2 separate regions of the Homo sapiens genome follow, and region 1 is linked to region 2. The links are contacts of gene promoters, found by promoter capture Hi-C in blood cells and fetal thymus (Javierre and others, 2016). All regions are on one chromosome and are shown on one strand. Each heading gives the region's core, a stretch centred on a gene start or on the middle of the fragment in contact. The rest is flanking DNA. Distances are from core to core; before and after follow the strand shown.

What was found. Contacts are between HindIII fragments. The CHiCAGO score rates a contact against its expected background, and 5 or more counts as called.
Region 1: a fragment that was not itself captured here is called in contact with the fragment with the promoter of EDN3 in region 2 in 4 of 17 cell types (total CD4 T cells, naive B cells, naive CD4 T cells and 1 more); the score reaches 6.4 in total CD4 T cells.

Annotation. Positions count from the first base shown.
Region 1 is chr20:58,855,920-58,860,146 of GRCh38, reverse strand. It overlaps a transcript of GNAS not described here. Among named protein-coding and RNA genes, the nearest start is that of GNAS, 33 kb to the left of the region's middle. RefSeq lists an enhancer at 3,804-4,227. The HindIII fragment of the contact is 537 bases long and covers 2,553-3,089 here.
Region 2 is chr20:59,297,814-59,301,949 of GRCh38, reverse strand. It overlaps EDN3 (endothelin 3), which reads right to left and starts at 1,339. Exons shown (of 5, transcript NM_207034.3): 1 at 1,086-1,339; 2 at 228-540. The coding sequence starts at 1,137. The HindIII fragment of the contact is 2,120 bases long and covers 713-2,832 here.

The DNA of each region.
Region 1 (4,227 bases), core at 1,572-4,071, 440 kb after region 2:
AACCAGGGATCTGTGCGTTTTGCTATAATTCAGAAAGTAGCAGACTACTCGACACGTGTCATTTGGCAAGGGATTTTAAGAGCACATAGTATACTTAGAATAATCATGCTTTACATTTAAATAATGCTTTATAGCTTATCATCACATTTCTGGTAAGCATTATCTGAATTTGAAATTTGTGATCCTTTACCTACCTTGCAGTCTTTGAGTAAAAGTGCCTTATGGCCGGGCGCGATGGCTCATGCCTGTAATCCCAGAACTTTGGGAGGCTGAGGCGGGCGGATCACGAGGTCAGGAGTTTGAGACCAGCCTGACCAACATGGTGAAACCCCATCTCTACTAACAATACAAAAATTAGCCGGGCATGGTGCATGCACCTGTAATCCTAGCTACTCAGGAGGCTGAGGCAGGAGAATCGCTTGAACCCAGGAGGCAGAGGTTGTAGTGAGCCAAAATCACACCATCGCACTCCAGCCTGGGCGATAGAGCGAGACTCCTTCTCAAAAAAAAAAAAAAAAGTGTCTGATATTTAATCTCTGAGCTTTTGGTTTATTTGCCTATGAAATGGGGCCCTATCACGTTTTTATTGCCCAGGACTGTTTCAAGAGACAAATATGACTAGATGAAAGGCTTTAAAAAATGTAAAATGTGGCCAGGCACAGTGGCTCATGCCTGTAATCCCAGTACTTTGGGAGGCTGGGTAGATCACTTGAGGTCAGGAGTTCGAGACCAGCTTGAACAACATGGTGAAACCCCATCTCTACTAAAAATACAAACAATTAGCCAGGCATGGTGGCACACGCTTGTAATCCCAGCTACTCTGGAGACTGAGGCAGGTGAATTGCTTGAATCTGGGAGGCAGAGGTTGCAGTGAGCAGAAATCCTGCCATTGCACTCCAGCCTGGGTGACAGAGGGAGACTTTGTTTCAAATCAAACAAACAAAAAATGTAATCAGAATGTGTTATTATTATTACTGGTTACTAATCATACTGAGAGCAGTGAGATTTTCCTTTTCAAGTTAGGAGGATACATACAGTAAGGGGATGACCCCCAATTCTTTTTGCTTAAAACCAGTTTTCCATTGTAAATAATGGGGGTAAATTTTAAACATTAATCTACCTATATGGGAAAATTTTTTTTGAGAGAAATCTGTAAGAATTAAAACCAAGGTAGAATTTCAGACTTTGAGAAGCATGAATCTTACTAGGAGACTGAAAAGAGAAAATAATAAATCTATCTGGACTCCAAAATTTTGTGGCCTGATAAGCCATGTCCTTCCTACCACACCAAAAGCTCAGTGGAGGCATTTAGAATATAAAAAAATGGCTGTATGTTAAAAAAGAGAGAGAGAGAGAGAGAAAAGAAAAATAAAAAGGTGCTTCTGCAAGATGGAATACAATGCATACTGTTGCACTTGGTGGCATAAATAATCATACAATTAATTGTGATTCACTGTATAAATAAAGCATCATAGCAGAATAGCCATTATTATATATAGCATTTGCCTACACAATTTTAATAAATGTGGCAGATACTAAGAAACTCTGATCTATTAGCCCCATTCAGTTCTTAAGGAGGAAATCACACCTAAATGAAGTTTTAAAAAATGTTTAAGCCACCAAAATTATTTAAAAACGTAACAGAAACATGGAAACAGTCTATTGGTGGATAGTGTTGAGTAAGAAAAAGGCTTCTTTAAAAAGAACTCTTTAGATATTTTAGAATTTTAATCATATTACTGATTTCTATCTATCTTTCTCTCTCTCTCTCTCTCTTTGATTTCTTAGGATTCCCTGTAATGAGATTAAATTGTCCCGGCAATAAAAACAGAAAGGATAAGCACATGAACATACATTTTTTCAAGCAACAGATGAATCTGCATGTCACAAATTAGCAACCATATCAAAGGACAGCCATTTGATCTGCATTTTCAGTGGTAGGGATGTATGGATGTCTTGTTTTATATGTTGGGACTAAAAAGTTAGTAAAAAGTCTTGTCCTACATGTGAGTAAGTCCTCATCCTTCCTCCTCTCCCTGTCCCCCATCAATAATTCAGGTCCAGAAGAGGTACGTCACCTCTGCAAAAGGAAGCCTGGTCAAAAACTGTAGCCTGCTTTGACAAACTGCAGTGGTACAGTTTCAGCTAGCAGCTAACACTGGCTATCATATTTCAGGCTTATGTTAGACATGGCCCATGGTTTGCCAGCCCACCTTCTGGACTATGCTGCATCCAAAGGTGTTTGGCTACCAGCACCCGAGAACAAAGCCAGGACAAGGTACAAGGTGACCCCAGCAAATTTCCTTTTCTTAAAGTTAATTTTTACTCCTGGTGACAAAATAAGGGGAGACAAAGGAAACTTCTAATATTCTTAAGACTGGTCCCAAACATGGACAGTTTGCTGCAGGATTGATGGCTGCACAATCTATGGTATAAGTCTCCAGTCCTGATGTAAGTAGACTGTGTCTCCTCCACCCCCCACCTCCAGGAAGAATAGAAGACTCAAATCATGGTGCAAAAGCATTCCTTAGTGGAGATCTGCTAGGAAAGCTTCATTTCACAAAGGAGGCAACTGAGGCCCCGCATGTAAGGCACATCACCAATTTGACAATTAGGGGTCAGGTGCACACTGTCACTTGGGTCTCCTGTCTGTATGCATTTATGTCCTCCCACCCCCAATCTACAGGTTTGCTTCCCAGAGCTGTGCTTGGAATATTGAAATGGGTCTGTTATGGCAAAATCAGTTGTCTGCAGGGAAACCAGTGCATTGTCATTTAATGTTTGGTAGCTTTAGTGTAGTTGAGACATTTGAAATTTAAAACAACGACCATATTATATGTCTTTAGGTAAATGACAATGTCATGATCTACCTGGATGGGCATACACAAAATGATCCTCACATTTAAAATTGTGATTTGTGAGAGCCACATCACAATAGCACAGTTATATGCCAATAATGCCATTAATAAAAAACCATCACACATTCTAACATATTTAACAAATGTAGCGCAGCCTTAAAAACTGTGATCTTGAAATCCCTTGGAAGGTCTTAGAGAAAGTCTTAGAGAATAAAATGTAAAAATTAAGCTTGTGAAGTTTGTTTGGAAGTTTTCATTTAAACCACATATTCAGACCATTGCTAATTGATGCTTTGTTTAAATGTGGCAAAAATATTTAATGCCCCAGATTTGAAGTTAAGAAGTCTTGGGGGGCTGGGGGGAGGGTGGGGAACTGGGAATGGCCAGGGAAAGACTGGGAGATACAGGAGAGGGTCTTGCTGTGGGGTGAGGAGGGGGATCCTGGAGAGGGGAGGGCACCGAGAGGTGGGGAAATGTGAGCAGAGGAGGAGGGGGAAGGTAGAAGGCCACCAAAATACCCTCCTGACAAGAATATCATGATTTTTAACTTCTGTAATCAAAATACCTTTATATATTTTTTGTATCCAGAGCCAATTTGCAGAAGACCTTACCTTTGACAAGCCTCTTTGCCCCCAGCTAAAGCTGCCTGAAAAAATTCACATGCAAACATTTACTTGTTTTCACAAGTCATATTCACGGTTTTGCCATACTTTGTCCACACACTTCAAATACACTCAGAGCATTTTTTGAAAACTTTTATTTTAGTTGCATTTCAAACACAAAGGTGACATTCCACTCACAACACATAACCCCCATCTTTTTAAACCAAGCCCCTCCTACTGTACTCTTTGTAAAAATGATTGGCTTACCTCGGGCTCTTCGCTAGGAAGAAAAATTATTTCATATTTTTTAAACACAGCCACGCCCACCCCCTTGGAACCAGCCCCCAAGTGGTTTGGGATCCGGACTTGCCTACAGCAGGTTGTGTTTCCCCTTTCCCCCATCCCCCGACCAGGCGAGCTGTGTGTGTGCAGAATACCGAACTGAGGTGTGCAGCCCCGGGCGCCCCAGATACCTGTGTGTCTGGTTTTTCAACTGTAAAGGCGGGAGGGTTTGGCGAACGAATGAGAAGTGAGGAAACGCTTAGCGCAAAAGGAAAAAGAGAGAAAGACATACAGAAACAAGGTTACGCGGAGGCCGGCGAAAAGCGATTCCCCGCTCCCCCAGGCCAAGGGCCCCGCTTATTTCCCGGGAGGCCCCGCCACCTTCCCCGCGTGTCCTCCGCACCGCTTGCCGCAGAGCGCCCGGGCGCAGGTACCACCAGAGTGTGCGAACAGCGAAAGTTTTTTGCCCGGGCCATGGCGCAAAC
Region 2 (4,136 bases), core at 90-2,589:
AGGATTGAGTTTCTCTTGGGCCAGGCCCTCAGGGGGGATGTGGGTCACACCCCTGACCTGCAGAAGAGACCTGGGCTGGCAAGAGGCCCCAGCAAGAGCTAAAGGCTGTGCCAGGGCAGGCTCTGGGCTAACTGAGCGGGGCTGGGGTGGAGTGAGGTCCTCCTGGGAATGAGCAGATGTGGGCCTGGTCCGGGAGCCACGTTCCTCACCACAAAAGGCTGACTTACTCGGGAGTGTTGATCCAAATGATGTCCAGGTGGCAATAGTAGACACACTCCTTGTCCTTGTAGGTGAAGCACGTGCAGCGCCTGGATCGGTGGTGCTCAGGGGCCCCCTCGGCCGCCTGCTCCTGCCCAGGGCTTCCAGGGCTTGGACCCTGCAGTGCTGTCGGGGCCACAGTCCCCTCGCCAGGGCCAGCCACAGTCTCCTCGCCAGGGCCAGCCACAGTCTCTTCACAGTCCCCCTCAGATCTGGCTGCAGTGGGGGCCTGGGACACGCCGCGCCTGCCAGCATCCCCAGACTGGGAGCAAGGCACGAATCCTGCAGAAGGCAGATTGAGGGGCTCCTAAGCTGAGTGTGCAGACCCCTCAACACCCGCCACCCCCAAACACCTGAGGAGGGGGGTGGAGCAAGCAAAATGTCTGCAAAGTTTCCAAAGCTCTGCGCAGTTTCTGAAAAGTTTCCAAGCTATCTGCACACTCTGTGAAAAGCTTGCAAGCTATCTGCACCCGTTGAAAACTTGCATGCATTTTGCATACTTTCTGCAAACTTTGCCAGGGTTTGGCACAGCCTCTGAATAGTTCGCAAACTTTCTGAAAAGTCCCCAGTTTCATGAAAAATTGACCAAGTCGGCCCAGGCAGCAGGTCTCCAGCCAGTGCGCGGGCTGCAACTCCCGGAGCCCGTGCGGGTAGTCGTTGCGCGCCGCTTCTGCTCCCCAGCCCTCCCCCAGGCGTCTTCACGAGTGCAGAGCCCAGGCAAGAGTTTGCTCCCCGCGACGCACATCTTCTCCGCGCCTCGGGTCCCCCGCCCTGGGTCCTTTTGTGTGCGCTCGCGCCAGGAGAGGCGCGCCGCCCCGTGCGCTTACCTGCGGCGGAGGTCACTGTGAGCCCGAAAAGGAGCCACAGCCCCGGCTCCATGAACCTAGATCAGGCGCCGGAGCACCGGACCAGGAGGACGGCCGCTTGTGGCCGCGAAAGGGCACTGGGGCCGGGTACAGCTGGCCTCGCCCTCCAGCTGTGGGGGTTCGAGGCCGGCCGATCGCTCGCTGCGTCTCCAGCTCCGGCCAGGAGTTGGCTGCGGCGGTCATAAACTTTCAGAGCGCGCTGCCCATCCCTGCGCGGAGCTGGCCGGCTGTGGCTCGGGCTTTTCTGGCTTCTGCACCACCCCCGTCGCCTCCCCGCCCCCCAGAGGGGCTGGAACTGCCTCGCCGGGCCTTTGAACCCGGGCGCACTGGGGGTCGCCTCCCAGGCGCTGGGGGGAGCTGGCCAGGAGCGCAGCGGCCCGAGGCGCACCCAGGACAGCGAGGGGCGGGGGCGGCGTGGCGTGGCGCGGCTGGGTGGGGTGGGGTAGGGTGGGGTGGGGGCCGGGACAGCTGCCAGCTGCCGGAAGGCCACGAGAGCGCGCGCACACACGCACACGCGCGCTCACACTCACAGGCGCACCCCCGCCCGCCAGTTCGCCGCTCCGGAGTAGCAGCCCCCCATCCAAGAGCAAGAACAGATGAGAAAAGGCTGTGCTCAAGGGGTGTTATCTTTTCTATCAGGGGCTGAGGGAAAGACACATTTCTCATTGTTCCCCGAGTGACACCTTCCCCTTGAAGAGCCTGCTTGCCAAGGAACTCGGTGTACTTTACACTCTTGACTCACGCCTCGGGCTGGCTCCCTACCTCTCCCAGGAGTTCAGAGCCTGCGTGTGGGGCAGTGGCCTGGGAGCAAAGTCAACAAAGATCCTGGGTTAGCGGTCCTGTGGTGTCCAGGGCTTCCTCAGCCATCTGCACAGGTTGGGTGGCTTCAGGTGAGAGTCGGGCTCCTCTCCCTAAAGGCCAAGTTCATTCACACAACCGTCCCTACCAAGGGAAATGACCTCCCAAGAGAGCCCCCTACTTCCTTCATAGCCTTCCAAGTCCTGTGTGTGGGAGGCTGTCCCCATCTCCAGCTCAGATAAAAATGTCTGAGACTGGGAAGTCCTCCTGACTTCTCAGGGCACTTGTGGTCAAAGGACCCTCCTTTCATAACAGATGGGGTTGGGGGAGGGGCAGTGCTTCACATCTGTAATTCCAGCTCTTTGAGAGGCCAAGGTGGATGGATTGCTTGAGCCTGGGAGTTCAAGACCAGCCTGGGCAACATAGCGAGACCTCATCTCTAAAAAATGGGGTTGAATTGGGTCCTGCCCTCTACTAGCCTTAACGACCAGCTTCTGAAAACTAGAAAGCAGCTGAAGTGACCAGAGCAGTTTCTGAGGACAGTCCAAAAGAGTGCTACAACATCCCCCTGGCTTGATAGCTCAGGACACCTGTCCTCTGAACACAGCTGCTGTACCAGGAGGAAGCCCTAACAAGCCCACCTGGAGAGATCACCTGGAGAAACCTACGTGGAGAGAAACCGAGGCCTCCCAGCCGACCACCAGTGTCAGCCACTGACCTGAGTGAATGTGCCTTCCGATGATTTGAGCTCCCAGCCCTCAAGACTTCCAACTGAGGAATAGCTGTCCCGCTGTACCCTGTCCGAACTTCCCACCCACACAATCCATGAGCATAATAAATGGTTGTTTTACAGCACTAAACTCTGGGTAAATTGGTACAGAGCTGCAGTAACTAGAGTAGCACTCAAGCTTCCAGCACTGAAGCTGATGCTGAAGTTCTCCATCCCCCCACTCCCATCCCATCCTGCCTAGCCCTTGAATCCAAGTGTTTATTTGTTTGTTTTTGCACTTGATGCTTTGAAAATAAGAAAAACCCAAGACTCACAATATCTTCTGTTCCTGCTGGGCTAGAATTTGGATCATTTTAGTATTATCTTTGTTTGTTGGGGCTACTATAACAAAACGCCATAAGCTGGGTGGCTGATAAACCGCAGAGTTTTATTTTTCACATTTTTGGGGTCTGGAAAACCAAGATCAAGGTGCTGGTAGATTCGGTGTTTAATAAGGGCTCGATTTCTGATCATGGATGGTGACTTCTCACTGCATCCTCAGTTGTGGAAGGGTCAAGGCAGCTCTCTGGGGGTCTCTTTTCTAAGGACACCAACCCCATTCATGAGGGCTGCAACCCTCATGACTTAATCACCCCTCAAGGGCCCCACCTCCTGACATCATCACCTTCATGGATAGGATTTCAACAGATAAATCTGGAGAGGACAAATATTCAGACCATAATAATTACTATCTCTTTGGAATTAAAATTTCCATCTTCAACAAAATAAAAAGTTCTTGGATTGGGGGATGGCTGGAGGAATAGAAAATATACTAATCAGCTAAAAGGAGAAAAGGAGTAGGAGGAGGTTTCCGGGTACCATGTTCAGACACAGGAGGTATCATGGCTGCTTAGACCACTCTCTGGGTCTATGGCCTTCAGTAGCTTGAAGCCGACCACCACTTGTCTTCACTGGGACTAAAAATCAACAAACCCTGGATGAGCCTCTCAGGCACCAGGAGGTGCTAGCCAAATACCAGGATGGAGCTGGCCCTGCCCTCTGGGTCTTCTACTCTAGTTGAGGTAAGGAAGTTCAGAAATAGATCGCCAAGGATCCAGGATGCTGAGAACATAAAACGCCGCACAGAGCTAAGAGAAGAAGACAGTGTGTTCAGCTGGATGATCAGAGGAGGCAGCATTGTCCTTGGTCCCTAAAGCAAGCCGGGCGCCATGATTTGAGGCAGCAGCCTGCAGTGACACTCGCCAACACCAGCTCTCAAGCGAAAGAGCTCCCTTTCCTACTGTTCTTCTGGCTTCTGACGATGGCCAGGGCAATGACTCGATGTGTCTTTAACAGCTCTCGAACAGAGAGAGAGCTGTACAAAGGGATTTTTGAACAAAGGGATACAAAAGGAATGTAGCAGGCCATAGGCTTGTACAAAGGGATAGCAGGCCATAGGCTTGGAGCCTTTGTCAGGCTGTGGAATCGGGCTTACTGTGCATGGT